Regions from separate parts of the Homo sapiens genome. Here regions 2, 3 and 4 are each linked to region 1. Evidence: promoter capture Hi-C in human tissues and cell types (Jung and others, 2019). All regions are on one chromosome and are shown on one strand. Each heading gives the region's core, a stretch centred on a gene start or on the middle of the fragment in contact. The rest is flanking DNA. Distances are from core to core; before and after follow the strand shown. Region 1 holds the start of EXOSC2 (exosome component 2). Region 2 overlaps FIBCD1 (fibrinogen C domain containing 1). Region 3 has its middle 48 kb from the start of FUBP3. Region 4 overlaps ABL1 (ABL proto-oncogene 1, non-receptor tyrosine kinase).

Region 1 (7,712 bases), core at 5,213-7,712:
ATCACTTGAGCCTGGGAAGTGGAAGTTGCAGTGCGCCAAGATCGCACCATTGTACTCCAGCGAGACTCTGTCTCAAAAAAAAAAAAAAAAAAAGGTTTATGCAGTTATTTTTACCATTTTACTATTTCAATGGAACACGAGGTGAACCCAGTAGGTAGATGAGGATTGAACCAAGAGTTTTGGGCTAGAGAGTCCCTGCTGCCTCTGTTTTCATGTTTTTCAGAATTTCCTTGCCAGTTACTTTCACCTGGAGTTCACCTGTTCCCCACCCCAACTCCTCAGGGTCCATGGTTCCCTCATTTCAAGGCTCATTCAAATGCTTCCTCTGTCAGGCAAGCTTTTCTGTCTGTCCTCCCTCTCCCTTCCCCATCTTTGAACATCTTAGCACTTTGATGACTGGGGCCTCAAATGATCCAGCTCTGTGGTCCCACAGCACATAGCTGGTGCCCAGCAAATGCCTGCTGAAAAAGTTTATTCATCAATTCAACAGAGATTTACTGAGAGATTTGTTGTTGTTGTTGTTGTTTGTTTGTTTGTTTTAATGGAGTCTCACTCTGTCAACCAGGCTTGAGTGGAATGGCACAATCTCGGCTCACTGCAACCTCCACCTCCCAGGTTCAAGCAATTCTCCTGTCTCAGCCCCTTGAGTAGCTGAGATTACAGGCACCTGCCACCATGCCCGGCTAATTTTTGTATTTTTAGTAGAGATAGTGTTTCACCATGTTGGCCAGGCTGGTCTTGAACTCCTGACCTCAAGTGATCCACCCACCCAGCCTCCTACAGAGCTGGGATTACAGACGTGAGCCACTGCGCCCAGCAGAGAGCTGTTTCAAGGGTCCTGAAATCTGACATGGTATGCCAACATGGAAATCTTTGTTCTAGAAACAAGAGGCAGGGTGCGCCATGCAGAGCCGCACAGGAAAGCACCGGGTTGGTCAGGAGGCAGAGGGAAGGAGGGGTAAACATGAGCAAGAGCCTTTATTGTGGTTTCCATGGGAAGGAATGGGTGAGGCAAGGTAAGCAGCCTTAGGATTGGTTGGTTTGAATAACTGCAGTAGGTGCTGGGGTTTATATAAGGGCTTTCCCTAGCTGTCTGGTGTCTGGCCTTGGGATGATCAGGGCAGTTGGATACTGGCCCTGAGTAAGAGAGCCTAATAAAGGAGGTGTTTGTGGGTGTGGGCTCTGGATTGGGTGGCATGCATTTGCAAGGGACCTCCTGGGTGAGTTCTTCACTATCTCCAGGAACCAGTTAACCCTGGTTGGGGCAGTCCCTCTGGGAAGAGCAAGTCCCCAAGATCTCAAAGCATCTGAGTACAGAAAAGCAAAGGCTCTGGGCACAGTGGCTCATACCTGTAATCCCAGCACTTTGGGAGGCCGAGGCGGGTGGATCACCAGGTTAGGAGTTCGAGAACAGCCTGGCCAACATGGTGAAACCCCGTCTCTACTAAAAATACAGAAATTAGCCAGGCGTGGTGGCAGGTGCCTAAAATCCCAGCTACTCAGGAGGCTGCAGTAGGTTCAAGAGGAGAATCGCTTGAGCCCAGGAGGCAGAGGTTGCAGTGAGCAGAGACCACACTATTGCACTCTAGCCTGGGCGACAGAGCAGGATTCCGTCTCAAAAAAAAAAAAAAAAAAAAAAAAAAGAGCAAATGCATGCTTAATACAAGGGCCTACTATATATCAAGCATATATACGAAATGGGCAGTGAACCAAATGGACAGTCTGGGTATTGGTGGGGCTCATATCCTGTGGGAAGACAGGCGATGAGCAGACAAGCAAATCTGTATTTTGTAAATATATTGTATTTTTTTCAACAAATATTTTATGGCTGCCCTGTGTGCCAGGCCTGGATCTAAGCATTGATATATGATGAACAGAATAGATAAAGTCCCTGTTTTCAGCAATGCATGTTCTAGTGGGGGGAGACTGCAATCAATGAACAAAAAAAAAAAAAAAAAGAAAGAAAATTGAAGCCCAGGCATGGTGGCTCACACCTGTAATCCCAGCACTGTGGGAGGCCAAGGTGGGCAGATCACTTCAGGTCAGGAGATTGAAACAAGCCTGGCCAACATGGTGAAACCCCGTATTTCCTAAAAATACAAAAATTAGCTGGGCGTGGTGATGGGTTCCTGTAATCCCAGCTACTCCGGAGGCTGAGGCAGGAGAATCTCTTTAACCCAGGAGGCAGAGGTTGCAGTGAGCTGAGATCGCGCCATTGCACTCCAGCCTGGGTGACAAGACCAAGTCTCTCTCTCAAAAAAGAAAGAAAAGAAAAGAAAAAGAAAAATCAGTGACAAGAAGTAAAACAGGATCAAGGGATTAAAAAAAAGGACTGGAAAGTTATTCCAGATAAGGTGATCAGGGAAGTCTTCTCTGAGGAGGTGATGTTTGAGCAAGCCATGAGTGAGGAGAAGGAGCCAGCCACACAAAAGCCTGGGAGAAGAGAATTCATGCAGAAAGAGACCAGAGTGAAGGGCCCTGGAGTGATGAGAAGCTTGGTGCTGTGGAACCGAGGGGAAGCCAGCTAGTCTTGAGGCAGGAGAATAGGGTCTGGAGGCAGGGAACATAAGGCTGATTCACACTGACTTTCTAGAACTAAATCAAAAGGAAAACCCCAACTTTCCACGTCCAAGTAACCAAAGGACCAGAGGCTACTCCCTTTGCAATCCCAGCTTTTCTGTGTGCAGATGAAAAACTGAAAGTACCTCTGATTGCTCCCTTCCCACTACCAGTCAGGCTGGTAGGTGGCCAAGTCTTCATTTGCATGGGAGTATAACTTTGTAACTTCACTTCAGCCTCTGATTGATAACTTTCCACAGCCAATCAGACATTGGCGTAGGGTGTAACTTTTAACTTCAGCCTCTGATTGGCCACTTTCCACAACCAATCAGACTGATCACGGGCCACTCCTTCATTTACACAGGGCGTACACCAAATAACCAATGGGAAACCTTTAGAGGGTATTTAAACCCCAGAAACTTCTGTAAGGAGCCTGTTGAGTTTCTTTGCTTGAGCTGTTCTTGCCCTGTAGAGTGTACTTTCGTTTTCAATAAATCTCTGCTTTTGTTGCTTTATTCTTTCCTTGTTTTGTCTGTATGTTTTGTCCAAGACGCCGAGAAGCTGGGCACCCTCCACCGTTAACAGTCCGGCTGCAGCATAGTGAGTAACGCAGTGGGTTAGGACGAGCGTGAGGTCAGAGACAGGCAGGAGTCAAGAAGTGCTGGAAGCAGAGAAGTGATTTAATCTGTTTTTAAAGCTCTCTCTGGCTGCTGTGCGGAGATTGGATGATAGGAAGGACAAAAGTAGAATTAGGAAGACAAGCTAGGAGGTTATCTCCCTGGTAAGAGATGCCGTTGATCAGCCTGGGGCAGTGGCTGCGGAGATGCACAGATGTGTGGCATCAGTGAATCTTAGACCTTTTCCGCCATTGAAATTACATAGGGAGTTAAAACACGCACAGACTTCTGGACCTTACCTTTGCAGAGCCTTGTGAAAGGCAAATAAATCTTGGGGCCCCAAAATCACTAAGCTAAAGGGAAAAGTAAGTCAAGCTGGGAACTGCTTAGGGCAAACCTGCCTCCCGTTCTATTCAAAGTCACCCCTCTGCTCACTGAGATAAATGCATACCTGATTGCCTCCTTTGGAGACGCTAATCAGAAACTAAAAATACAAAAAATGCAACCATTTGTTTCTTTTTTCTTTCTTTTTTTTTTTTTTTTTTTTTGAGACGGAGTCTCACTCTGTCGCCCAGGCTGGAGTACAGCGGTGCGATCTCGGCTCACTGCAAACTCCGCGTCCCGGGTTGAAGCCATTCTCCTGCCTCAGCCTCCCGAGTAACTGGGACTACAGGCACCAGCCACCATACCCGGCTAATTTTTTTTTTTTTTTTTTTTTTGTATTTTTAGTAGAGACGGGGTTTCACCGTGTTAGCCAGGGTAGTCTCGATCTCCTGACCTCGTGATCCGCCCACCTCGGCCTCCCAAAGTGCTGGGATTACAGGCGTGAGCCACCGCGCCTGGCCTCAACCATTTGTTTCTTATCTACCTATCACCAGGAAGCCCCTTCCCAGCTTCGAGTTGTCCAGCCTTTCCAGACCGAACCAATATTCATCTCACATATGTTGATTGATGCCTCATGTCTCCCCAAAATGTATAAAACCAAACTGCGCTCCGACCACCTTGGGCACAGGTTGTCAGGACCTCCTGAGCTTGTGCCACAGGCACATCCTCAATCTTGGTGAAATAAACTTTCTAAATTAACTGAGACCTGTCTCAGATATTCGGGGTTTACAGCCTCAATGCCTAAGGAATCTATACTTTTTACAAGCCCCCTGGGATGTGCTGCTTCGTCTCCGGGTACCCACTTGTCTACTGGTCGTAAAGGGGTAAGTGTGGCCGGGCTTGGTGGCTCATGCCTGTAATCCCAGCACTTTGGGAGGCCAAGGTGGGCGGATCACTTGAGTTTAGGAGTTCGAGATCAGGTTGGGCAACACGGTGAAACCCTGTCTTCACAAGACAAATACAAAAAATTAGCCGAGCCTGGTGGCATGTGCCTGTAGTCCAAGCTATTCAAGAGGCTGAGGTGGTAGGATTACCTGAGCCCAGGAGGACGAGGCTGCAGTAAGCCATAATCGTGTCATTGTACTCCAGCCTGGGTGACAAAGACTCTGTCTCGAAAAAAATAAAAATAAAAAAAGGTGCGTGTGATGATGCAGAAAGAGGAGCACTGGGGATGGGAGAGGGGGAGTCCCTGTCGTTTTGGATTCTAGTCCCAGTTACGGGTCTGTTTGGGGGGCTCGGTGGCCCCAAGTGATCATCAGGGATAGCAATGCCTATCTCGAAGATGGGCTGAAAGTGAGGAATACATAACATAGTATTTGTAAAGCACTCAGCAAAGGACCAGCCGAAGCACTCGGGCTATTTCTGGTAAAGGGTGCAGGCTCTGGGGTAAATCGCGTGCAGTTGGAACACACATCGGCTTTGCAGCCATCTGCTAATGTGAATTCCATTCCTTTTGGGGCCTCGATTTCCTCCTCCATAAACTGGTATCCACAATGCCAACCTTGTGAACGCTGTGAGAATGCGCGGGGTAAAGGCGACGTCTCTCCCTCCCGGGAAGAACTTGGATGGTGTCAGGCCTACACTCTCGCTCCGCCTAGGGCCGCTCGCTGGGCCTGGCTCCCCGGCTGCCGGGCTACGCGAGCTCAGAGGACACCATCGCCCTCTTATGGCCGCGGCAGGACTGGACCGAGGGGCTGGGCTCTAGTGCCTTCCTCCAGGCACGGCAGAGGGCGAGGGTCTGGCAGCCCGCTTACCCAGGGCCTCGGGGCACTAGCATTCATGTCATCGACTGCCTGGCAGGGCTGGCTTTCTTAAGTGTGGTCGTGAGACTTGCTTAAGTGGAAGAAATGCTGTCGCTTTGGAGATTTATAAAACAATTGGCTCGATGGATCTTTCTTCAGGAGGCGGACTTGGTTTACCGGCTTTACTGACCACAGCTGATGCCAATGATTTCATTTAATCGTCTTTAGAGTCCCTGTGCATGGGGAGTTACCATCCCCAATTAGTTTCTTGTGAATGCAGGGCAAGGAGAGGGAGAGGGTAGTGGGGGACGGGGAGAAGGGGCGAGGGGTACCCTCCTATTAAAACGGAGCCGCAGAAAAACCCACAGAGACATCCGTCTGTTCCCCGCTGAGTCCTTAGAACAGCGCCTGGCACACAGAGAGCGCTCAACTCGCTGTGTAACTAAATGCAAGCCAAGATCTTCGCATTGTGTGTGCTCTTCCCTTCCCTACCAAATATACCTGGCTTGCAAGGTTTGACCTGTTTTCTTAGACGATTTTTAACTTGTTTCCAAAAGAAATATTGGAGTAAATTAGCTTGTTCAAAGGAGTCCTTATGAAAGGACAGAACCAAGTGAGAAGTATCTGGAGCCCGGTTTGGGGTTATAGATGATGATGTTGAGCCAGCACCCACGGGGCGGCCGCAATGTAGAATCCTGGCGCTACTGGGAACCGTGTGGAAAGGGGCTCTTCTTTCTGTTCAAATAGTGTTTTCTGTAGATCCCATCTCTCCATCCTCCTGAGCTCTCTCTTACAAAATATCGGATTTCAGCAGCTTAGAATTGGACAGAAACTCAGAGGTCCGTTTCTCAATTATCTCTAACCCTGGTAAACAATAAATGGGATGATGAGTACAAGACAGTTTTGGTAAAAAGTCACACGCCACACAACGTGAGATTTTATTATTCCACGGGTGCTTCCTTGCCAATAGTAGACATGGCAGCTCGGCTCCCTTCCCTTCGGGTTCGCCTTATTGTTGCCAATTGTAAACATGGCCTCTAGGCCGTGAGTTCTCATTGGCAGCTGCTCTGAGTCCCCGCCCTTCCCCGCCCCTCCGAACGCGGCCTGGAGTTGTGGAGTCGGATATCGCAGCTCCCGACTGAGCTGCGCCTGCGCAACTCATTGGCGCCAAGATGGCGATGGAGATGAGGCTTCCAGTGGCTCGCAAGCCTCTTAGCGAGAGACTGGGCCGCGACACTAAGAAACATCTAGTGGTGCCGGGGGATACAATCACTACGGACACAGGATTCATGCGGTACGTGGGGACTTGGGGGAGTCGAGGCTTCAGAGAGCGGCTTCAGGGCTCTCTGCACGTGGTCCAGGCCTCGTATCCCTGTGTGTGTAACTCCCCGCGGGACCCAGGGCACTTCGTCTGAGCATCCTACACACCTCGCTTCCGAGCCTCGTGCTTCTTGCTCCCTGCATCTTGTGTGTCCCCGTCTGCATTTGTCTCAGCTCCCTGAAACCCTCCACTCCTGACCTCCGGTGGCTGTGACTTTTGGGTCTTCTGCCTGAAGTCCAAATCTTTGATCCTTCCTTGTGGGAGACCTGGAAAGCTGGGGAGGGTTAGGTGCAGGCTCTTTTCCAGTTTTCAGCTCTCTGAGGGGACGGTGGGCGTTCTTGGCTGCCTCCTCTTCAGTTTAGAATCCGTAATTGTTCGATCTTAGGGCAAACAGTTACATTGTGCTGCATGCACCCATTTATACACATTTTGAATCTAAGGGGTGTAGTGCAGTGTATTGTGGTTAAGAGGGAAGGCTCTTGAGTCAGACAGTTGGGGTTCCGGTCCTGCTACCATCACATCTTATTAGCGGCATTGCCTCTCCACGGTCAGTTTCCTCATCTGTAAGATAGTGATAATAACAGTATGATACGGTAATGAGGATTAAATGAGACAATTATGTAAGAAAAGAAGTAAAACCAGCCATTATATCATCATAGATAACACTAGTGTTTCAACCTTTATTATTATTATTTTTTTACTTGTATATGTACAAGGGGCACAGCATTCATAGCATTGCCCTTTAACCTGTTAGTTTAAGGTTAGTGGATACCAGGAAATTTTTTTTTCTTTTTTGAGACGGAGTCTGTCTTAGATCAGTCGTGCGATCTCGGCTCACTGCAACCTCTGCCTCCTGGGTTCAAGTGATTCTCCTGCCTCAGCCTCCTGAGTAGCTGGGATTACAGGTGCACGCCACCATGCCTAGCTAATTTTTGGTTTTTTTTTTTTTTAGTAGAGACAGGGTTTCACTGTGTTGGCCAGGCTGGTCTCGATCCCCTGACCTCAAGTGTGATCTGCCCGCCTCGGCCTCCCAAAGTGCTGGGATTACAGGCATGAGCCACCATGCCTGGCCCCTAGGAAATCTTAAGA
Region 2 (7,712 bases), core at 1,250-3,749, 210 kb after region 1:
CTTTCTACTGGCCCCGTGCGGCACCTCCCACACAGGCACTCGATAAATACTGGATTTTATTAAATAAACTCCAGGGATTGTTTTATCCGTAAGCCTCAAATTGATGTTATGAATAAATAGCCATGGGGGACTGTTCATTCAATAACGTGTCTCAGTTCCTTGGAACTCTGTCCCCAGCCACAGGGACCCACAGGATAGTTTATCACCCCGGGGACCCGGGAGGGATGCACCGATGCCGCAGGACCCGGGTTCATCCTCCAGAGCCCAGACCCCAGGAGGACCGACCCCACTGGGCGCGGCTTGTGCAGGAGGCAGGCCCTGCGTCCGCCTGACCAGGTCCAGGCCATCTTTGCAAAGCCCAGAACTGGCCCAGTCAGAGGGTCTTGAGCAGCCCTAGTGGGTCCAGAGCTATCTGGGAAATGCCTTTTGGCTGCTCTAATGAAAATGGTGGCTGGGTGCAGTGGCTCATGCCTGCAATCCCAGCAATTTGGGAGGCAGAGGCGGGAGGGTGGCTTGAACCCAGGAGTTCAAAACCAGCTTGGGCAACATAGCTAAGACCCCGTCTCTACAAAAAGTAGAAAAAAAAAATTGCTGGGTGTGGTAGTGCGCACGTGTAGTCTCAGCTACTCAGGAGGCTGAGGTGGGAGGATCGCTTGAGCCCAGGAGTTCGCCACAGTGGGCAGTGATGGTGCCACTGCTCTCCAGCCTGGGTGACAGAACAAGACCGTCTCTAAAAATAAATGATGAGAGGAGTTCAGGGGAGACAGAGCGAGAGGCAGTCCTGGAACACGTGGGTATCTGATCCACTCAAGCTCTGACACGAGGCTTGGAGTCCGGCTGGAGGCAGAGACCAGAGCTGGGTCACCATGAGACTTTATTAAAGACAGAACGCACAGACACCAAGTGCTGACAGCCTCGCCTAGCGATGCTCCCATACCAGGCTTCCTCCACCAGTCGCTGTGCTGGCCCTCTGAGCTCCCTCTGCAGCCCTGGCCAGTGCTGTGTGGCCCGAGTCAGACACACCTGTCAGCGCATGAGGGGCCAACGTGGCCAGCCTTGAGCCAGAGCTCCCAACACTCCCTACAAATCCCACCGAGGCCCGACCTCAGCCCTCTGGGTTTGCCAAGTCCTGCCGGCTGCTTGGGCCACACAGTTTGGGGACATCCTTGTCTCTGAAAGCAGATGAAGAAATGGAGGCCCTGGGGAAGCCCGGTCCGCTGAGGCCAAAGCTTAGTGTCCTGTCTCCTTGTTCTGGGTTCTGTGTGTCCCCTGCTGGGTCCTCCTGCCGGTACATTGCTCCTGAAGTCACAGGACGGGTCTGCCGCTGGCCACAGGCGTTCTTTATGTCCCGTCCCCCCATCTCACACAAACGGTACCTCTCCTCTTCCTTCCCCTCCCTGGAGCCAGCGTCCTCATGGTTTGAGATGGTTCAACAATCCTCCAAATCTCTGCCTGCTCAGACACGCCCCTGGGTGACAGGGCCTCCAGAGACCCTGGCTCCCAGCTTCCAGGGCTCTGGCCCCAGCCAAGCCAGCCAGAGGCCTGTGTGGACGAGGACAGGTGGCAGGAAGGGTTAGGGGCACCAGAAGGAGGTAGGCACTGGCGATACAGCTTTTGTCCCAAAGACAAACATTATAAAACCAATTTACACGCAGCTGCAGGGGAAAGCTGTTTGAGAATGGCTCACAGCTCTGTTCCTTTGCTGTTCTCCAGCTGAATGTGCTGAGGCCACCAGCATGGAAACCAAGGTTCCTTCCATCCTCTGGACCTTGGTGCTCAGGCAGTCAGCTGCGTGGCCTTTGGTGTAACTCTCTGAGATATGTGTGAAGTTTAGGGGAAAGGAGGAAGGCCACTGGCTGAGCCACAAAACCTACCTGTGCACGTGGAGAAGCAACGGCGCAGGTGCGCTGCCTCCAGGTCCCAGTGTGGCGATGCAGAGACCCCTCCCACTCAGCTTACTCCCCTCAAGTGAAGCAGCAGGAGGAGGCTCAGTCAGGTGGCATTGTGGGATGGAGGGCTGCAGGCATCCACCCTCAAACTGGGTCCCAGGGGACGGTTTGGGGCCCGTGGGTCCCAGGCGACCCTGTGCACATGCTAGCCCTTGGCCTGGTCACTCAGCCCACAGGTCTCGAGCTGTCCCTCGCCCAGGGCTCTCCCAGCATCCCCATCCTCCTGTCTCAGATGAGAGCCATTTGCACTGGTATCAGACCGTAGGCTCTGCAGGGCTAGGGTGAGAGGGTGTGGCCCGGAGCAGGTGCGCAGGGACCGTTTTTCCCCAGTGCCAGCCTTTGAAGGTGCCCCTGGGGAGGGTGGGGCCGGTGCGCTGGCCTGGGCCCTCCCCACCATGTCAAGCTCCGTGCCCATTCAGCCGGTGCTTGGTAGGGCCATGTGCCCTCTCCTGGTCTGGGACAGGGGCCGGTGCTCTAGGGCAGTAACAGGGCTCTAGAAGGGACAGGCATCCCCAGTGCAGCCAGCCACTGAGGACAGATGCTGCCGGGACCTGGACCTGGACCACAGGCTCACAGGCCACCTGCACCTGCCCCCGGCCCCTCGCCAGGCCCCAGCCATGGTGCATCTGTTCCACAGCCAAGCCCTGGCACGAGGGCCCTGGTGCCTCCTGCTGCACCCACACATCTGTGAGTCCATTAACTTCACACTCACCAGGAGTTTGTTTGATGACACATCAGAAAGTGCTGGCACTTTCTAAGCAGTCGCTGGCGCAGTCACTGGCATGGGGAGGCTGGTAGCTCCTGCCTGGGGCCTGTCGGTGGGGGGCTCCTGGGATGAGAACTCGGGTCCCACCCAGCCCCTGCAATATGACAGGGTGCTCTGGGAACCCAGATGGTCTGGGTGGGCTCCCTTGGCTTCTAGATGGTGGGAAGAGGAGCCAAGAAGGGATTTCCCGTTGAATCTCATGTGGTCATTTTGCCCACATCTTGCCCCTTGTGGCCCCGCACCTGGCCTGCTCCAGCCACCACCCCGGCCACACTAGGCTGCCACTGCCTGATTCTTGGCTGTATCTGCGTCCAGCTGAGGACCGAGAGGGCAGGGACCAGGTCCTGTCCAGCCTGGGCCCACGGCAGAAGGAAGCGCTGCAGACATCTGCGCATGTGGATGACCTGGTGGCACTGGGACAGAGAGCCAGGTCACACGGCCTCTCCCACCAACCCCCAGTGGTGCCAAGTCAAATTTATTGTTTTTTAAGCACAAACTTCAGTGGGAGGGGAAGGGAGAACGGAACCCCACACCCCCTAGGCACCTGCCATCGGGTGTCCTTTGGAGGAAGCCACCTCCCCTCCTGCCCGAGGAGAGGCTGCTAGGCAGCTCCCCAAGGCTGACTCCAGCCCTTTCGGAGGCCCCCCATCAGGAGGCCTTGGAAAAGCCGCCCTGCATCTGGGCCTGACGTAACGCACGCGGGTCCAGGGCTGCTGAGCAGACAGCTGAGGACCCGGCTCCAGCCCTGCCCTTGTGGCTGCTGGTCCTGGGAGCCTGCGGGTCTCACCTCTGCATGTGTGCACACAAGGAGTGGGGATGACAGCGTGCTGGGTGTTGGGAGGATTCAACAAGAAAGTGTCCAGGTGGTGCCTGGTCTGGTGCCCCAGTCCCCCCGACCCCATTTGCCCGGTGAGGTGGTCCCTGTCCCTTGACCACTCGCCGGGCCGGGCCTGGCCTGGGTCCAGGTGGCCACGGTCAATGGCAAGGGTTGGCCTCCTCATGGAGACAGCCACCTCAGGGAAGGGGTCATCACCCCCAAGGCCCTCCTGGGAGGCCTCAGGACCCTGGAGTCCCTGGGAAATTGGTGGTGGGGGTTGTACAAGCCTCATCCCAGCCCTGCCTAGGCCCCAGCCCAGAAAACCAAGAGCTTCCCATTAGCGCAGTCCAGCCCCACGGTGCAGGGCCCCACCCACCTTCCAGAGGCAGGAGAAATGGGATGGCAGCCCCAGCTGCCCCAGGTAGGAGGACGGCCGGGAGCTGGGTGGGGGATGGGTTGGGCCTCATTTGAGACAGAGAGCAGGTGGGCACAGCAGGTAAGAGGACTGCAGACCCCAGGCCTGCCGGGGCACAGGGTGGGTGGCCTCCAGGGAACTGGTCTCAGCCTTGGAGCGTGGGTCCCCAAAGGCAGCAGCTCCCCATCCTGACCTCAGGGCCTGGTAGGATGGGGCCACCCAGCCCACAGCCAGGCTGAGGCCCTTGGGGGAGAGGTGGGTTCTCTGGGCACCAGGGAAACGGGGTGGGGGTTGGCATTGGGAGGGCTGGAGGATACTGGCCTCAGACCTGACCTCAGAGAGACCTGACGTTCCCCACGATCTGCTAGGAGGACTCCAGGGGTGCTGTCTGCCCCCTGCTCTCTGTCCCCATAATGCCGGGTATTTGGCCGGGCAGGGCAGAGGGTGCCTGGGGCAGACTCCACCATCCTGGCCAGGGGACGGCAAACAGCACCGGAGTCACAGTGGGGGCAGGCAGGAGTTGGGGTCGTCAAGTTTGCCAGCCCCCATCAGCAGAGGCAAGAGATCAGTGAGCTGCCAAATGGAGGGGGTGGGGACGGCGAGAAGGCGATGTGTGACTTCACCGGCCCAGGGAGCTTCGTGTCAGGGATGGCCCGGCCCCTCCCTACTGGAGAGTGGGTCCGCCAGGCACAGGTGGGTGGAGAACATTCACGAAAGAGTGAGGTGGGGTCGGGGATGGGGCGACAGGGACCAGCAGGGCCAAGGACAAGGTGCACCAGTCTAGCGGTCCTCCCGGACCGGCCGGATCTTCATCTCAGAGAACTTGAGTGAGTACTGCCAGCCGGTCCAGGAGGACCACTCCACGCCGTCGGCATAGGAGGCGTGCGCACCGCGCAGGTACTGCCCATTGAGGTTGGACGTGTGGCAGTTGCGGTACCACCAGGCACCGCGGTAGAAGGCGGCACAGTTGTTCTCTGAATGGTCGCTGTCACGGTCCTTGGTGGTGAACCTCATGCCGCTGTGCTTCAGGAGGGAGTCGCCTGCGCAGGGGTGCACACAGGTGTGGGCACGGGGGGCACGGGTACACCCACTGGTGTTGCATGTGTGAGCAGACACCGAGACACTGCACGTGCACCTGGACGTGAGTGCATACACGTACGCACGTGCTCTCACACATACTGCTGTGCACGCGTGCAAGCGCACCTGCCCCTCCACACCCGGGTGTGTCCATGCAGCTCACACGCACGCAGTCCCTTCTCGGGCGTGCCTGGGGCTGCCCCTGGGTCTAGGCGGTCTCTATCCCTCCCCCCAGCTTTTCCACATTCCCTCTCCTGCCTCCCCGCTCCTCGGCCTGAGAGGGGAAACCCAGCCCAGGGGGGTCCAGCCACCACACTTTAGAGACCCAGCGGACCCGAACCCCGGGTCTCCTGATTCCTGGCTCTGGGCTCAGTTTCTTTATCTGCAAAACGGGAAAACAGTCCAGGCTCTGCTGGCTTCGCCTTGCAGGGGTGAGGACCAAGCAGGACTTGGAGGAGGAGGCAAGCAGCCTTGACCCTGACCCCAGAGGGCCGAAGGGCATCATCAACACTATTATGAAAAAACGAACAGAAGATTCGCAGAAGCTCATCTTTTATGACATGCAACTGAATCAACTGATGAAGACAAGGACTGAGGGATCCTTGGTAAGGAAGAAAATTTTCCCTTTTCTGTCTTGTTTACTCTTCCAATTTGAAAAATTTATTACTTAAAAAAAATTTAGATTGGTTTCAGGCCTCTGATTGTGATGTGGGGTTGGTAGTTTATCAATATTTGTTATTTTTCAAAAACCTGATTACTTTCAAAGGGGGAAAAATACATTAGCCTTGATCATTTTGGAGGGCAGGACCTCCTCCGTCCTCCATCCTCCCAGGCCGCCCCCCTTCCCCATCCCTGCCACAGCTGGAGCCTCACCTGCAGTGCCGGAATAGTCAGCCACGGTGAGCGGGTACCCGTCTTCCTCAGGGTCCACGGAGAACAAGCCCACGCCGAAGCTCCCGTAGCGGGCATAGGCCGTGCCATTCTCAAAGTCCTCCAGGTCCACGTGCAGCTCGTAGGCAGCCTGTGTGGTCAGGGCGTGGATCCTCTTGAGCCCTGAAGTTGGGGGGAAAATGGTGGGAGAAGCTGAGGGGCGTAGGAAGCGACTCCCCAGGGAGAAATGATAAATGACAGCTGAGCTCATGCAGTTGGGGACAGAAAGGGACAACCACCAAGTGCGTGCAATCAGCCCTGGGCTACTTCCTTCTTCCTGCAGGCCTGTGTTGGGCAAGCCACTGAGGACCGACAGTTTTCATGTTTGGTTTTCTCTGTTCCCTTTAAGTGGAGCTGTGATGCTTTTCAAACGTTGGGGCTCTGAGCTGGTGGGAAGACTGCAGGAGGCGGGAGGAGGTGGGGGTGACAGCACCCTTACCCAGACTCCAGCCAGAGCCAGACAGACAGGATCTGTGTTCGCATTTTCCTATACCTGGCCTCTGGGCCTTTGCACATGCTGTTCCCTCTGCCAGGATGCTTGTCCCTACTCCTCCTCACTTGGTTACCTTCTATTCATTTCTGGAAGGCTGCCTGACCTCCTGTCGGCGTTGAGGACCTCCTCTGCCAACACATGTGCCCCTGTGGGTATTTATCTTTCAGGGTCCCGGCTGCCTATCTTGTCAGTTTCCCCACCAGTGCGGAATTCCCGTGACAGTGGCATGTCCGACCTAGCCACTGCTGACCCCAGTGCCTGGGGTGGGGCCTGGCACAATGGTGCTTACCCAGCGCTGGCTTAGTGGATGGGAGGGAGTTGGCGGCACCCTCACCCCTCTAGGCCGGCTCTGTGCCCCCATCCTACTCTCTCCCTCCTGCTGTCCCCGCCCCACCTCAACTCTGCCCTGCCCATCCCCGGGGTCTCATGCCAGGCCTCCCCTACCATACACATACGTGCTCAGACTCCCAAGATGCTTCACTGCTGGTGTGGTTACTCTTGATTAAGAGGGCATTTAATGAAATGTTTCACAAGTTAGTAGCAGCGAGTGGTATTCCATCCGCTTCTCCCTCCTGCCTGCCTCTCCCCGGCTCCGCACCTCCCGGGGTCAGTGTGTGCTGGCTGGAGGCTGTGCGGATCCTCCCCCATCCCGCCCGGACAAGAAGCCTTTGGTCCCAGTCACCAGGTCCAGGGACCAGGAGCAGCTACTGTGGGAGGAGTCACAGCAAAGCTGACCGCACGACCCACGTTCCTCCCCAAGGACCTGCCAGGGCATGGGCTTTGACAGCCTAGGGTCTCACCCAGGGTCCCCACCTCCCTGACTCTCCTGCTGCTGAGTCTCAGGGCAGCCGCTCTCCCTCTCTGGGCCCCAGCTCGGCTGGCGCAGGGCTGATGTGAGGGGCCAGGAGAGTGTCATACACAAAAGGGCAGGTGGGAGGTAATCATGACAACAGCCGCCACCTGGACGGCACTCGCAAGGGCCCAGCACCGTTCTCAGCCCTTCGTGCAGATGAGTGAATCCAGTGGAATTAGAGTGAGTCTAATTTAATTACAGAATCCCTGGGCGGCTCTTCTGGCAGGGCTGGCCCGCTGCACACATTATCCAGGTGCTGACTGCTGCTTCCCAAGGCCCCGGGGAAGGAGTGCCTATTACTACCTATTTTATAGGGGAGGAAAATGAGGCCCAGGGAGGTTAAGGAGCTGGCCCAGGTCACGCGGCTGCTGAGTGGCATTGCTGGGATTTGAACCCAGGCAGAAGGGCCCCA
Region 3 (7,712 bases), core at 3,844-6,343, 160 kb before region 1:
ACAACATCCCAACGAGGGCAGAGGCCAGAGGCAGCAAGCCACCCCATGCTGGGACCCCCTTGCTCCCCAGAAAGCACAGTAGCCCATATTTAGGGAGGAAGGTTAACAAGAGCAGGAGGGCTCTGCTTCCAAATTCTCCTCGGTCCTCGTGTGACCCTCTACCCCTAGCCTGAGCCAGCAGGAAGAGCAGGCGGCTCTACAGCCTCCCGCCTTCAAGCAGGGGCCATAGACCCACAGGGGCCCCTGGGAGCTCACTAGAAAGGCAGAATCTGGGCCCCTTTGCTCCAGACCTACTGACCACAGTCTGCATTTTAACAGCTGATACATGCGCGCGCCAAGGCTGAGAGTGCTGGTGTTTAGAACCTCCCGGAGTGAAATGAGAAGGGGCGAGTGTGCATGTGTGTGTTAAGATCTTTACCCTAAAGAAAGGGCCTGAGATGAGGAGGGAAGGTGGGAAGGGAGTTAGGTAAAAAGGAAGGTAGAATGGAAGGGAGGAAAAAAAAGATACCCTCCAGATGTCCAAAAAGTATCTGAAGTAACTTCATTCACCTCCCATTCCTTCACTGCATATTTATTGAGCATCAGAGACATGCTAAGCACTGAGCTGAGCGCTGGGGTAGAGCAGCGAGCAAAATGGGCGAGACCTCAGCCCCATGCGCCCCACCACCCCACAGCTTACGGTCTCAAGCTGTGCTGTCCGGAACAGTAGCCCCACCACGTGTGAGCGCGTGAACTGTGGCCGGTCCCCATTGAGATGCGCTGTGAGTGTTAAATACACACTGGATTTCAAAGACAGTGCAAACTGGCCAGGCGCAGTGGCTCACACCAGTAATCCCAACACTTTGGGAGGCCGAGGCAGGAGGATTTCCTAAGCTCAGAAGTTTCAGACCAGCCTGAGCAACATGGCAAAACTCTGCCTCTACAAAAATACAAACATCAGCCCGGCCTGTACTCCCAGCTACTCGGGAGGCTGAGGTGAGAGGATCACGTGAGCCCAGGAGGTCGAGGCTGCAGTGAGCTATGATCACACTGCCACTGCACTCCAGCCTGGGTAACAGAGCAAGACCCTGTCTCAAAAAACAGTGCAAGCAAAAGAATGTAAAATATCTCAATTTTAAAAATATTCACTACATGCCGACATGATCATACTGTGAATATATTGCATTAAACAAATTCACGTATTTCTTTTTTTTTTAATGCAGCTACTAGAAAACTTTCAATTATGAGGCTTACATTTCTGTTGTACAACACTGCTCTAGAGGATGAGACAGAAAACAAACTAATAAGCAAACAAAAAGTTACAAGCAAACAAAAATGTAAGAAGATTACATGTGATGAAAAGCCCTGGGAAGGAAACCAGCAGGATGAGATGCAGGACTGGAGATGAGGAGCGAGGTCTCTTCAAATAAAGACATATGAGCTGGCACAGTGGCTCACACCTGTAATCCCAGCACTTTGGGAGGCTGAGGCGGGGGGATCACTTGAGCCCAGAAGTTTGAGACTAACCTGGGCAAATGGCGAGACCCCATCTCTACAAAAAATTTAAAAATTATCCAGGTGTGGTGGCATGCACCTGTAGTCCCAGTTACTTAGGAGGCTGAAGTGGAAGGATCACTTTAGCCTGGGTGTAAGTTACATATAGTCAACTGCACAAATCTGAACTGCACCTCAGGAGTGTTCCATGCCGCTCCCAGTCACTATGGCTGTGGTGGTGCATTAGCTACCTATTGCTTCAAACAACACACGTTGATCATCTCACAGTGGCTGTGGCTCGGGAGTCTGGGCACAGTTGAATGGGTCTTGTCTTCAGGGTCTCATCAGGCTGCAGTCAACAGACACACACACGCACATACGCACACTCCCCACTTCTCATTTCACTCCGGGAGGTTCTAAACACCAGCACTCCCAACCTTGGCATGCACATGGATCAGCTGTTGAAATGCAGTCAAGGTGTCAGCCGGGCTGCATCTTCTTTCAGAGCTCAGGTCGTCTTCCAAGGTCTTGCATTGGTCGGCAGAATTCAGTTCCTTGCACCAGTAGAACTGAGCTCCCTGTTTTCTGGCTGGCTGTCAGCCAGTGGCCCCCTGGTGCCACGTGGCCATCTCTAAGGCAGTTCACACCATAGAAGCTTGCTTCTGCAAGTCTCTCTTCAGCTTTTTTTGTTTGTTTCATTTTCTTTGAGATGGAGTCTCGCTCTGTCACCCAGGCTGGAGTGCAGTGGCGTGATCTCAGCTCACTGCAATCTTAGTCTCCAGGGCTCAAGGGATCCTCCCACCTCAGCCTCCCAAGTAGCTGGGATTACAGGCATGCACCACCACGCCAGACTAATTTTTGTATTTTGGTAGAGATGGGGTTTCGCCATGTTGTCCAGGCTGGTCTCAAACTCCTGGACTCAAGTGATTCACCCACCTCAGCCTCCCAAAGTGCTGGGATTACAGGCGTGAGCCACTGGGCCCAGACTTAAGGTTTTACCTAATTAAGTCCAGCCTAACCCTTTCAATGAACTCAAAATGAACTGCCTTGAGATCTAAATTACACCTGCAAAACTCCTTCAGCTTTATCATCTCAGCCAAAAGCACATCCCTAGTCCCACCCACAGTCAAAAGGAGGGGTTACAAAGAGTGTACATACCAAAGGTTAAAAATCAGTGGGAGTCAGCCAGGGATGGTGGCTCATGCCTACAGTCCTAGCTACTTGGGAGGCTGAGGCGGGAGGATCTCTTGAGCCCAGGAGTTCAAGACCAGCCTGGGCAACATAGCAAGACTCCATTCTTTTAAACAAAAATTACAGGGGTCACTTTAGGGTCTGTCTGCCACAAATGGTAATGACAATTCTAACCTCTTCAACCCCAATTAAAAATTAATCATTTACTAAAAACTTACGAATTCATTAATTAATTGTGTCAGACTCCTTTTATCTTTTTTCTTTTTTCTTTTTTTTTTTTTGAGATGGAGTCTCGCTCTGTCACCCAGGCTGGAGTGCTGTGGTGCGATCTCAGCTCACTGCAACCTCTGCCTCCCGGGTTCAAGCGATTCTTCTGCCTCAGCCTCCTGAGTATCTGGGATTACAGGCACAGCCACCATGCCCGGCTAATTTTTGTATTTTTGGTAAAGATGGGGTTTTACCATGTTGACCAGGCTAGTCTCAAACTCCTGATCTCAAATGACCCGCCCGCCTAGGCCTCCCAAAGTGCTGGGATCACAGGCATGAGCCGCCGCGCCCGGCCTGCATCATATTTCATTATGGGAATGCACCACGATTTATTTCACAACTTCTGTTGACAGATATTTGGGTTGCTCCCAGTTTCTGGCTATTGAAATAGAGCTGCTAGCACGTGGGATTCTGGATCAGATTTTAGACAATCCAAAGACATTAATGAAAAAACTGATGAAATCAAAGTCTGTAGTTTAATTAGTAATATTGCACCCATGTTAATTTCTTAGTTTTGACAAATGGGCCATGGTTATAGAAGATGTTAACTGTAGAAGAAAGTGAATGATGAGTATACAGGGGCTCTCGGCACTATCCTTGCAACTTTTCTATAAAGCTAAAATTATTCTGGGCCCAGGCGTGGTGGCTCACATCTGTAATCCCAGCACTTTAGGAGCCAAGGTTGGAAGATCACTTGAGGCCAGGAGTTCAAGGCCAGCTTGGTCAACAGAGGGAGACCCTGTCTGTACAGAACAAATAATAATAAAAATAATTCCAAAATAAAAATTTTTATAAAAATAAGTAAATAAAGCTAATAGCAAACATCTGCTACAGGCCACGGAGGAGTAGTGGGTATACAACTAGCCCTTGATGGAATCTATGAGGCTACTCTGTTCGGTGCAAGACCATAGATTCAGACTGTGCAAGACCACAATCCCTGAGAGAAGGGAAACCCATGAAGTGAGCCCCACAATCACCAGATCTCTGCCTGGGGCCAATTTCCCAGCCACAGACCAGAGAGCAGGGATCCAAGCTGCAGTCATCCTGCTGAGCTGGGAGGCAGAGATAAGGACACGGAGCTACTGAGGCCGCAGGGTCTGCAGGGCTGGAGGAAAGGATGATGCCAGGGCTGGGTTTCTTTTTTTTTTTCCTTTCTTTCTTTCTTTCTTTCTTTTTTTTTTTTTTTTTTTTGAGACAGAGTTTCGCTCTTGTTGCCCAGGCTGGAGTGCAATGGCGCGATCTCGGCTCACCGTAACCTCCACCTCCAGGATACAAGCAATTCTCCTGCCTCAGCCTCCCGAGTAGCTGGGATTACAGGTATGTGCCACCACATTCAGCTAATTTTGTAATTTTTAATAAAGACGGGGCTTCTCCATGCTAGTCAAGCTGGTCTCGAACTCCCAACCTCAGGTGATCCACCCACCTCGGCCTCCTAACGTGCTAGGATTACAGATGTGAGCCACCATACCTGGATCTTTTTTTTTTTTTTTTTTTTTTTTTTTTTTGAGACAGAGTCTTGCTCTGTCACCCAGGCTGGAATGCAGTGGCACCATCCCAGCTCACTGCAACCTCCGCCTCCCAGGTTCAGGCGATTCTCCTGCCTCAGCCTCCCAAGAAGCTGGGACTATAGGCATGTGCCAAACCTGGCTAATTTTTGGATTTTTAGTAGAGATAGGGTTTTGTTATGCTGGCCAGTCTGGATTCAAACGCCTGAGCTCAGGCAATCCGCCCACCTTGGCCTACCAAAGTGGTAGGATTACAGGCATGAGCCAGCATGCCCAGCCTCAGGCTGGGTTTCTAAGCAAGTCTTTGACTATGGCCTGGGGGGCACACACTCAGGACAAGACGACTTGAGGCTTTCCAGAGAGCAGCTGCTGTGAGTGCAGTGTGGGACCAGATCCTTGAAGACCCCCTGGGGGAAAAGAGGCGGGATGGCAGAGGAAAGGGTGGGAGCGGATCACACAGGTCCCTGAGGGCTGAGAGGAGGGTTTGGCTTTTGCTCCAAGCAAAGTGAAGACACCAAATGGTTTGGGCAGAGGAGTGCCCTGCCCTGCCATTGATAAAGGGCCCCGCTGGCTGCTGAGTGAAGAGCCTGTTAGATCTGTGGTGGGGGCTCGGGTCAGAGCCGAGGGTGGAGGTGGCTGTCAGTGTCAGAGCGGAAGCCACTCCAAAGGTGGAGCCCATCAACTGGACCTGGGGGTGGGAGGAAGACAGGAGCCAGGAGGGCTCCAAAGTTCTGGCCTGTTGATTTCCGAGACACTTGGCTTTTCCTTTTTTCTCCTTTTGAAAACCAGTTAATAGACGCTTGGCTTTTTCTTACAGCAGGTGTGCATTACCATTGCAATGAGAAAACCCCAAAAAGACATACCTTTTACTGGAGGGGGAGAAGGCATTCTCCATGTTGAAAGCATTCTCCACTCCTTTCCCGAGGGGAGCCATGAAGGAGACACGCGTCTTTCCCAGGTGCCCCCCATTGCCCAGTGGTCTGCCCCGTCTGCTGCACAAGGTTTGTCTCTGTCTCTTGCTCCTTCTTCCCGCTATGTGTGTCCCTCCTGTCCTCCAGCCCCTGAACAGGTGCTGCAGGGATGGACAATGGGGAAGAGCCAGCACTGGGGCTGGGTGGGGGTGGATGAGGGGTGCAAGAAGTTCAATGAAAGACTTGCCTTTGGTTAAAACAAATTTTTTTTTTTAAAAGAGCATCTTTCTCCCCTATCCGAGCAAGGATGGCCTTTGGGACCACCAATGCTTGTGACTACGACTTGCAGAACAGAGACCTCTCTTGGTCTCACTCCTGCGCCCAGCCTCTTGTGGCCTCACTGGCCCTGGCTGTGGTCCCTCCTGCCCCTCAGGGGTCCCTTCCCACCTCAGAACCTTCCTTTTTTTTTTTTAGACGGAGTCTTGCTCTGTCGCCCAGGCTGGAATGCAGTGGCGCCATCTCGGCTTACAGCAACCTCCACTTCCCGGGTTCAAGAGATTCTCCTGCCTCACCCTCCTGAGTACCTGGGATTACAGGCGTGTGCCACCATACACCGCTAATTTTTTTTTCATATTTTTAGTAGAAACAGGGTGGCCGGGTGCGGTGGCTCAAGCCTGTAATCCCAATACTTTGGGAGGCCGAGGCAGGCAGATCACGAGGTCAAGAGATTGAGACCATCCTGGCCAACATGGTGAAACCCCGTCTCTACTAAAAATACAAAAATTAACTGGGCGTGAAGGCGCGCGCCTGTAGTCCCAGCTACTTGGGAAGCTCAGGGAGGAGAATCACTTGAACCCAGGAGGCAGAGGCTTCAGTGAGCCGAGATCGCGCCACTGCACTCCAGCCTGGCAACAGAGCGAGACTCCACTCCGTCTCAAAAAAAAAAAAAAAAAGAAAAAGAAACAGAGTTTCATCATATTGTCCAAACTGGTCTCAAACTCCTGACCTCAAGTGATCTGCTCACTCGGCCTCCAAAAGTGCTGGGATTACAGGTGAGAGCCATTGCCTGGATGTCCCAGAACCTTCTCCCTGTTCTGTTACCCAGACTCCTCCTTTCCCTCTCTCTCTGCCCACCTGGGGCTCGGCCTCCTTCAGGGCTCAGTGTTCCGGGGCCCCTCATCCCCCTCCCCCAACAGTCTCCCCACCCATAGGGTCTCTGCCTCCAGGAGACCTCCAGACCTTCCAGCCAGCGTGAGGCCTGTTACAGGCTTGTGTGACTTCCCCTCAGAGCAGTGTCAAGGCTGTAATGAATGATGATTTCTGGGATTTTTCATTCACTGTCTATCCCCCGTGCTAACCTGGGAGCTTCTCGTTCACCTCAGTATTCTCAGCCCCTAGCAGAAGACCTAACCCATAACTGATGCTCAAAAGATACTTATTAAATCAAATGATATATAACTCAGACAGAGATGAGTACATCTGAACAAGTGGCGCCCAGGAGCTAGCACGCAGAATGGGCTTTGAAAGTGGATACAATTTCACTAAGTGAAGATGGAAGAATGGAGGTTTCCAGGGGGGAGAGCTCACCATGAACGAAGAAAGGGAAGCAGGAAAGTGTGTGTCAACTTCAGTGCCCGGAAGTGCATGCACAGCAAAAAACAAATATTTTTAACCTTTTTACAAAAAATACTGGGAGTCTCTCTCAACCTATTCTGGTCTGGGGGCTGCCCAATTCATGAATCACCAGAATAAGTAAATAAATGTATAAATAAAATACTTATGGCAGGGTGTGGTGGCTCACACCTGTAATCCCAGCACTTTGAGAGGCCGAGGCAGACAGATCACTTGAGGTCAGGAGTTTGAGACCAGCCTAGCTAACATGGGGAAACCCTATCTCTACTAAAAATACAAAACTTAGCTGGGTGGGGTGGCACATGTCTGTTATCTCAGCTACTCAGGAGGCTGAGGCAGGAGAATCACTTGAACCTGGGAGGTGAGGCCGCAGTGAGCCCAGATCATGCCACTGCATTCCAGCCTGGGCAACAGAGTGAGACTCTGTCTCAAAAAAAAAAAAAAAAAAAAAAAGACAAAAACTTACCAAACGAATGACTATTTGGAAGGGTGGATGGACGGACAAGCAGATGGGCAACAGGTTAAAGCAAAGCTCCTCCTTTTAAGGAAACAGAAACCGAGGGCTGGAGAGAAAGGGGGCTCCTGAAGATGACTGCGTTGCATTGAGGCAAAAGGAAAGCCGTTGTACCTTCAGACCATCTCTCGCCATCCACCCTGCGTGACCATTGCCTACGCCAGTCTTCCCTCCTCCCAGGACCCCTGCCCCCCACCCCCAGCATCCTCTCCAGTGCCC
Region 4 (7,712 bases), core at 2,402-4,901, 150 kb after region 1:
TAGCTGGAGAGAGAGGCCATCAGTAACTTCACATCTCTCTGTTTCCATTTCCTGCCCTCAAATGCCTTCATAATAGAGTCTACGTAATAAGGTTATAGGGATTCAGTGCAGATGAAGTGCTGGCACTTGATACGGGATCAGTAAGTATTAGCTATTATTCTATCACATTAAGTTGCATAAACTTTAACCTCATTACTCTTAAATTCTCTATAGAAACCTAGTCTTTATCTGTCTTACAAGCCCTCAAATTTAGCTAATAGCGTTGTTCATTGAATACCTTAAAATTGTATTTAAAGACAGGCCGTGAATACAATTAGGCATTGCTTTTTGAAGCCAAAATACCATGAGGGTGGGGAGGGTCATGTTCATTTACCCAGATCAGCAATAAAAATACTAATGGCTAACAAGGCTTTCTGGGGAAATTGCCTGTCATTGGGTAGCCCAGTGCCTCTGGTGTCAGCTGACCCCGGAGTCCATGAAGACATGTTAAAAGAAGAGGAAATGTGAATGCTTTCAAACCAGCCATGGCTGGCAGCAGAAGGGGAGGCCTTTCAGTCTGTTGCAAATGGCCTGTGACAATAAAAATGCCTTTGTGGGTATTAGCAGGCTGACTGTGGACAGTCTGGATCTGCGGCCACTGCAGGGATTCCTGGAACCTGTTGGGAAGGTGTCCGGCGAGCTCACTGTGGTGTCTGTTAGGAATCTGGAGCAAATCCTATTTCTTTTGAAAGCACAGAGAACTGTGTTTTTACATTATACCTTTAGGATTTTGGCCATGGTTTATATTTCAGTCAAAACAAATCATTATGTTCCCTAGGCTTTTATATAGGTTTTCCTGGTCAGGTTGCATTTGTTTTTCAACTTTACTATCTGTCATTATTGCTGCTCTTATTACAGGTTAACAGATTATTAAACTGCACTTTTCAGTACCTTGTAGCTAAAGACAGACAAGTGCAGGGTGTTCCACATCTGAGTTCACCCAGCAGTGCTGTGTTGTTGCGTTGCACTGAGCAGGCACAGAAGGCTCTGAGATATGAGAGACTTGGTCTCTACCCCAGAGGAGTTTACATTGTTGTGGTGGCAGAAGAGAAGGCGTGGCATAAGAGAAGACGCGGTTGTTCTGTAGTGAGCATCCCAGTGTCAGGTGCCACAGTTGGCATCCATGCAGAAATTCTCTGCATGCAGGATTCATTGAGCCCTCCCGACAGCCCAACTAGGTTGATGCCATGCCGTTGTTGCCCTGTTGTGCAGTTGAGAAACTGAGGCTCAGAAACAAATGTCTTCAAGACATGCTGGTGCTGAGGTTTGAACAAGGCCTGTCCACCCAGAGCCCATGCTTTTTGTACTGCTGGGGACATGTGAACAGATTGCTTACTGGGTGATAGATGCAGGGTGGTGATAGAGACAGACACCAGGTACCCAAATGGGTTAAAGGAGAAGCATCCTGTTGTGGGCGAGGTGATGGGGAGGAGGAAGGACCGGTTAGAGAAGGTTTATGGGAGATGGGGAGGCCAGGAAGAGCAGAAGAGGCTGGGGAACGAACTCTAGGGAGAGTAAATGGCACTTGTCACAGTGCAGTCAGGAGAGGCAAGCAACAGGAGGCCTGGGGGATCTGAAAGGAGTTTGGAGAGGCTGGAATGGAAAGCAGGAGTAGAGGGCCAGATGCTCCCAGTCTCAACCCTGAAGAGCCTGGCATGCCTGCTTCAGGAGCTCAGACTTTTACTATAGTGGTGGAAGGAATAACAACCCCAGCCATTTTTTGAGGGCCTGTGCATGCCTAGGCCCTCAAAAACATGTCCCATGTTAGCTGCAAACTGCCAGCTACCCTGCAAAGCACATCATGATCCCAGCATTGCCCCCGATGACACTGCCAGTAAGTGGTAGCTGACCATTGGGAGACAGGGCCACCTCCCAAGCCCATGCTCTCTTCTGCCTCTCGGCTGGCAGCCATCTCTAAGGGATTTGAAGCAAGAGAGTGACCTGGTCAGGTCTGCATTTGAGAAAGATGGCCCTGATAGTAGGGAGTGGAGGTGGAATGGCCAAAGGGGGACCCAGCCAAGGGCGTGGTAGAGCATGGAAAGGACAGAAGTGATGAGAGATTGAGGAGGAAAAGTGCCAAGATGCAGGGTGGGAACTGACAGAGGATGACTTCCAGCCTCAGTCCTGATATGGGCGTCAATGGCAGGTGTTCAGAATGGCCTTGAAGATAGTGGCATCTCTATTTATGAGTGTCTTTGTACTCCATTTCCAGTAATTGGAGACTTTTTCACCGTAGATTCTTGGAAGGTGACACAATTTTTTTTTTTTCCTTTTTGGTTGAGGGAGGGGGACAGGGACTGTGTATCTTCAGAAAGGTTAATATTTGAGGCCAAGGCAGGCAGATCACTTGAGGTCAGGAGTTCAAGACCAGCCTGGCCAACATGGTGAAACCCCGTCTTTACTAAAGATATAAAAATTAGCTGGGCATGGTGGTAGGCGCCTGTAATCCTAGCTACTCAGGAGGTTGAGGCAGGAGACTCACTTGAACCCGGGAGGCGGAGGTTGAAGTGAGCCAAGATCGCGCCACCGCACTCCAGCCTGAATGACAAGAGTGAAACTCGGTTTCCCCACCAAACAAAAAAAGAAATACCTAGTTTCTACCAGAGACAGTCACAGGCACTGTACTTCTACTCTGGTTTGTTACCTGTGTTCTTAAAAAAATTAAATGCTACATTTTAGTAAGAGGTTAGTGAAATAAAATTTTAATTTTTCCCATCAGAGGACATGGAGCCCTTGAATTCTATCCCAGACTCCCAGGGTCTTCCAGGTTAACAAGTCCTGCACTAAGGAATTGGCTCAGTAAAACCTCAGCATTCTCACAGGAAGAGCCTAAAAAGGAGACTGGGATAAATTAGTGAGAGGTCCAAATTATGCAATTTTCTTTTAAAATAAATGCAGTTTTATTACTTTCCACTTGTAGCCATTATAGGCAGTAGATTAAATGAGTTTCTAGAGAAACCTCCTTTAAAAATAAAGTTATTTAATTAGTCCAAGGTTTAAATATTTCCCCTGGAATCTTTTACATGACAATGTCTTAGCCAGACAATTTTTAAGAAACAAAATTCTCCATCCTAACTCCTATCCCCATCAACAGTCCAAATCTTAACCTTTCTTTTTTTTTTTTTAGACAGAGTCGAGCTCTGTTGCCCAGGCTGGAGCGTGGTGATGCAATCTTGGCTCACTGCAACCTCCACCTTCCGGGTTCAAGCGAAACCCCTGCCTCAGCCTCCCGAGTAGCTGGGACTGCAGATGTGCACCACCACGCCCAGCTAATTGTTGTATTTTTAGTAGAGACGTGGTTTAGTAGAGACGACCTCCCAAAGTGCTGGGATTACAGGAGTGAGCCACCACACCTGGCCAGAAACCAGGTGTTTGATATCAGGTGACGGTTGTGATCATTGTTCGCACCACTACTTTGAAATGACATAGTTGCCACTGGACCTTGTTATTTAATGTGCGAATAAAGAGACAGTTATTTAAGGCATTAATAAGAGCTATATTACAAGTTTTTAAAAGTCTTTTGAGGACTGTTTCAAAAAGTCTTTTGAGGACTGTTCTCCTTTGCAATCCTCTGTAAATGCACCATTGCATTCCAACCCGGGCAACAAGAGCAAAACTCTATCTAAAAAAAAAAAAATTCATCCACAGGACAGCGCTGGCCTTCCGTTAGACTTTTGCTGTTGAGTCTGTAAGTTTTCAGCAGCTGTGTTTCTCCAAGGAGCGGGGCTACTGCTGGTTCTTTACGTCTTTCCCCCACTGCCCTGCCCCTCCCTGCACCCTAGCAGCTGACACAGTGTTTTGGGATTTGAAGATAACACAAAGGCTGTGTTCAGTTAAACGTATGTCTGTGTGTGTGTGTGTGTGTGTGTGTGTGCTTGTGTGTGTGTGTGTTTTAATAATTTTAACTTCTCTGGGTGAAGGTGTAAATTACAAAATAAAGGACCATGTAGAAATAGATAAAATGACTTTCATCAAGCTCAAAATGTGGGAAATAATACTTTTCCTCTAAGCTCATATTTTGAAAAGTTGTTTGAGACTGTTATAAAATAACTTGAGAATAGTCTGAGCATGATCTCATCCGCTGGAACGGAGTATGAAATAAAACACGAAGCCTCTTTTTAGAAGGATCTGTTTTATAGATTTTTAAATTACAGAGATTCCTTGAACTGGAGGATAATAGCGAAGGACCCACAAAGGAAATATGAATAAAGCAGCACAAGTTTAAATAATTGAATGTGAGCAAAATTAAAGGGAACGTTTGTCACGTCTGACATGCTCCATCCTCCTGTCCCCCCCACACTGAACCGTCTCCAAGAACCTTCCGGAGAGCCCACAGTGTGAACAGTAATGAATGCTCCATAGCTGGCCGCCTTGCACTCTAGTGGGAACTATGATGTTGGGCACAAGTGCCAGCAGGAAGGTGGGAAGCTTCCCGGGGATGTTTTTCCTGGAGGTCAAGTCCCCCCTTGGGCTGTGAAGTAGCCGGTACTGGGGTTCATGGGCATTTCCCTTCCCTGACTGTTCGCCAGCGTCTGGCACAGCACCAGCAGCCCCTGGAAGTCTAGGCCAGATATGCCATGTCCGAGAATCTTTTGTAAACATTTTTCATCAGTGACTCACAGCTTTGAGAAAGGATTATTTTTATATAAAACGATCTTTCAATTTTACTTTAAAGACCCAAACCATTTTCTTAGAATACTGTCTAAACAAGTTAATCATGCACAGATCCAGTGAATTCTGTGGCCTGGTTCTTATAAAATTTCCAAATAATTTTATACTGTCATAGACAGAGCCAGAGCTTTTTAGAGGTTTGAGGCATTTTTTAGATGTATTACTGTTCTCGGTGCTCAACTAGCTAATTAGTGATTTTTTCTGAGTTTAGTTGGTGAGTGGAAACCTTTTTGTTAACATTATGACAAAATAACAATATGGTTTTAAGTGGAGTGAGAGGCACTTTTGAAGATCCAGATCTTAGATCCAGATCTTAAATCTGTTTAAAGTATGACTCAGAAAGGAGGCTGCAGAAAATGTTCACTAAAAAAATTTAAGAATAATAGCAGATGCTAAAATTTATTTCCCAAGACAATAGCCAAAAAGATCTGCTGGAAGAACAGAAGAAGGGAACTAGTTGGGGCATCTTTTTTTTTTGAATGAAGCCTTCAGCCTTCTTTAGGGGAATCTTGCTTCCTGACAGAGGGACCGGTGGAAAGTTTGTGTCTTAAGCAAGAAAGATTTAAGTACATTCTGCAACTTTGGCCTTGTAAGCTGTGATCATTTTTAAGGTTGACGAGCATAGTTCACTATGAAATGAAGCAAGTAACTTGGCATTTATACATTGTGAGTCAATTTTGACATCAGCCTGGATTGGGAATTGACTGGAAGGTTTTGGTGTTGGACTGTGGCTACACTTCAGTGTCTCGGTCCAGAGGCATGCATGAGCAATACTTCCCTTTGGGCTTTAGCCATTAATTTGTGGAATAGAGCAAGAACTGGAGAGGAAAGTCGAGAGACTGCCTTGGATCGCCTGACGTCCTGTTGAATCAAAAAGCAGTGGGAGGCCCTTTCCTTCCTAACAAAGGCCTCATCCTCTTGCATAACATTCCCAGCATCTGTCGACATGTTCGGGACCATCCCACTTTAACCCACACTTCAAGTGGATGGCCACCTCTGGGCGGGGATCTGCATTCTGCTTATTCCAGGTGTTTTCCAGGCCACTTCCCCGATTATGTAACTTTGATCAAATCCAGATGCGGCAGAATGTTTGATAGAAGAGGTCAAATGGCATTTGAGAAGAAAAGCATTTCTGTATTCATGACTTTGGTTTAATTTCCTGTGTGGGCCTGGTCTGCCAAAGTTGTATGCTCATGGCCACGAGGTTGACGCACCAGAGGGAGGCACTCAAGTGCCTTTTCAGGACAGCCTGAAGGAAGCCTCCCTCCCCAGCATGCTTTTTCATGTTAAATTATCAATTATGTAAGTTTAGGGCCAGGCGCGGTGGCTCCTGCCTGTAATCCCAGCACTTTGGGAGGCTGAGGTGAGTAGATCACTTGAGACCAGGAGTTCAAGACCAGCCTGGCCAACATGGCAAAACCCCGTCTCTACTGAAAATGAAAAAAAAAAAAAAAAAAAAAACTTAGCCAGGCGCAGTGGCTCACATCTGTAATCCCAGCTACTCAGGAGGCTGAGGCAGGAGAATCACGTGAACCTGGGAGCTGGAGGTTGCAGTGAGCCTAGATCGCACCACTGCACTTCAGCCTGGGCGATGGAGTGAGACTCCAACTCAAAAAAAAAAAAAAAAAAATTTCAATTGGCTTCTATTAAAGCTTTTTTATGTTTGTCATTGTTTTCTAGTAATAACAACAATCCACATTTTTTGTGAGAAATATACCATAATATAGAGAAGTATAAAGAAAATGTAAGGCCAGACACGGTGGCTCACGCCGATAATCCCAGCACTTTGGGAGGCTGAGGCAGGCTTATCACCTGAGGTCAGGAGTTCGAAACCAGCCTGGCCAACATGGTGAAACCCCATCTCTACTAAAAATACAAAAAAAGTAGCCGAGTGTGGTGGCGGGCACCTGTAATCCCAGCTACTCAGGAGGCTGAGGCAGGAGAATTGCTTGAACCCGGAAGGTGAAGGTTGCAGTGAGCAGAGATCACGCCATTGCACTCCAGCCTGAGTGTCAAGAACGAGACTCCGTCTCGAGAAAAAAAAAAAAGAAAAGTAAATTTAAAGCACTTAAAATCCCACCACCCTGAGTTAACTACTGTTCACAGTTTGGTGAAATTCCTCCTCGTCTTCTATTTTTTCATAGTTGGGACCATGCCTATATACTGGAATGTAATATAAACACTTAATATATTATTGCGAGTATATTCTCAAACTTAAATATTTTTTCCAAAAATATTTTGAGTGGCTTTTAAAATATATCCTATTTTATGCATGCAGCATAAACTAACTTATCCTGTGTTGATAGATATTTTGTACTTGCCCTTTTCTGTGCTGTTGTTTAAAATTAGTGTATAGAAATAATTGTGTTGATCACTTAGGATAAATTCCTAGAGGTAAATCAGATATTAAATTCTTTATAGACTTCTGGTTCATATTCCAGTTGCCCTCAATTTATACACCTACTACTAGCATTGTATGAGAGTGCCCGTTTCTCTGAAATCTTACCCACACTGGCTGTCAGCGTCAAAAAGATGTATCTGCAGATTTGGCAAGGAATTTGCATTTCAGTGATTATTATCAAGCGTTCACACACTTTCCATGTTTAATGGTAATTTTTTTTGTTTTTTTTTGAGACGATGTCTCACTCTGTTGCCCAGGCAGAGTGCAGTGCCGCGACCTTGGCTCACTGCAACCTCTGCCTCCCAGGTTCAGGTGATTCTCCTGCCTCAACTCCTTAGCAGCTTGGATTACAGGCATGCGCCACCATGCCCGGCTAATTTGTGTATTTTTAGTAGAGACGGGGTTTCACCATATTGGCCAGGTTAGTCTCAAACTCCTGACCTCAAGTGATTGCCCGCCTTGGCCTCCCGAAGTGGTGGGATTACAGGTGTGAGCCACCGCACCTGGCCTTTAATGATAATGTAAATTTTTTGTGAATTGTTTATTCGTGGCTTTGCCCCATTTTTTCCATAGTGGAGGGATTTTTCTTTTTCTTGTTGGT

Evidence for each region. Contacts are between HindIII fragments. The study calls those that stand out against the background at their distance.
Region 2: a fragment that was not itself captured here is called in contact with the fragment with the promoter of EXOSC2 in region 1 in 1 of the 25 tissues and cell types used here (mesendoderm cells).
Region 3: a contact is called between a fragment that was not itself captured here and the fragment with the promoter of EXOSC2 in region 1, in 1 of the 25 tissues and cell types used here (dorsolateral prefrontal cortex).
Region 4: a fragment that was not itself captured here is called in contact with the fragment with the promoter of EXOSC2 in region 1 in 1 of the 25 tissues and cell types used here (dorsolateral prefrontal cortex).

The regions. Positions count from the first base shown.
Region 1 is chr9:130,687,318-130,695,029 of GRCh38, forward strand. EXOSC2 (exosome component 2) reads left to right here and starts at 6,463. Exons shown (of 9, transcript NM_014285.7): 1 at 6,463-6,596. The coding sequence starts at 6,475. RefSeq lists an enhancer at 6,526-6,715. The HindIII fragment of the contact is 7,301 bases long and covers 1,416-7,712 here.
Region 2 is chr9:130,899,337-130,907,048 of GRCh38, forward strand. FIBCD1 (fibrinogen C domain containing 1) reads right to left here. Exons shown (of 7, transcript NM_032843.5): 6 at 5,898-6,077; 7 at 3,104-4,987. The coding sequence ends at 4,728. Among named protein-coding and RNA genes, the nearest start is that of QRFP, 6.4 kb to the left of the region's middle. The HindIII fragment of the contact is 8,002 bases long and covers 1-6,500 here.
Region 3 is chr9:130,527,882-130,535,593 of GRCh38, forward strand. No RefSeq gene overlaps it. Among named protein-coding and RNA genes, the nearest start is that of FUBP3, 48 kb to the right of the region's middle. RefSeq lists an enhancer at 1-145. The HindIII fragment of the contact is 8,183 bases long and covers 1,003-7,712 here.
Region 4 is chr9:130,842,197-130,849,908 of GRCh38, forward strand. All of the region lies in intron 1 of ABL1 (ABL proto-oncogene 1, non-receptor tyrosine kinase), which reads left to right. Among named protein-coding and RNA genes, the nearest start is that of ABL1, 11 kb to the left of the region's middle. RefSeq lists an enhancer at 5,252-5,874 and a silencer at 5,466-5,760. The HindIII fragment of the contact is 3,526 bases long and covers 1,889-5,414 here.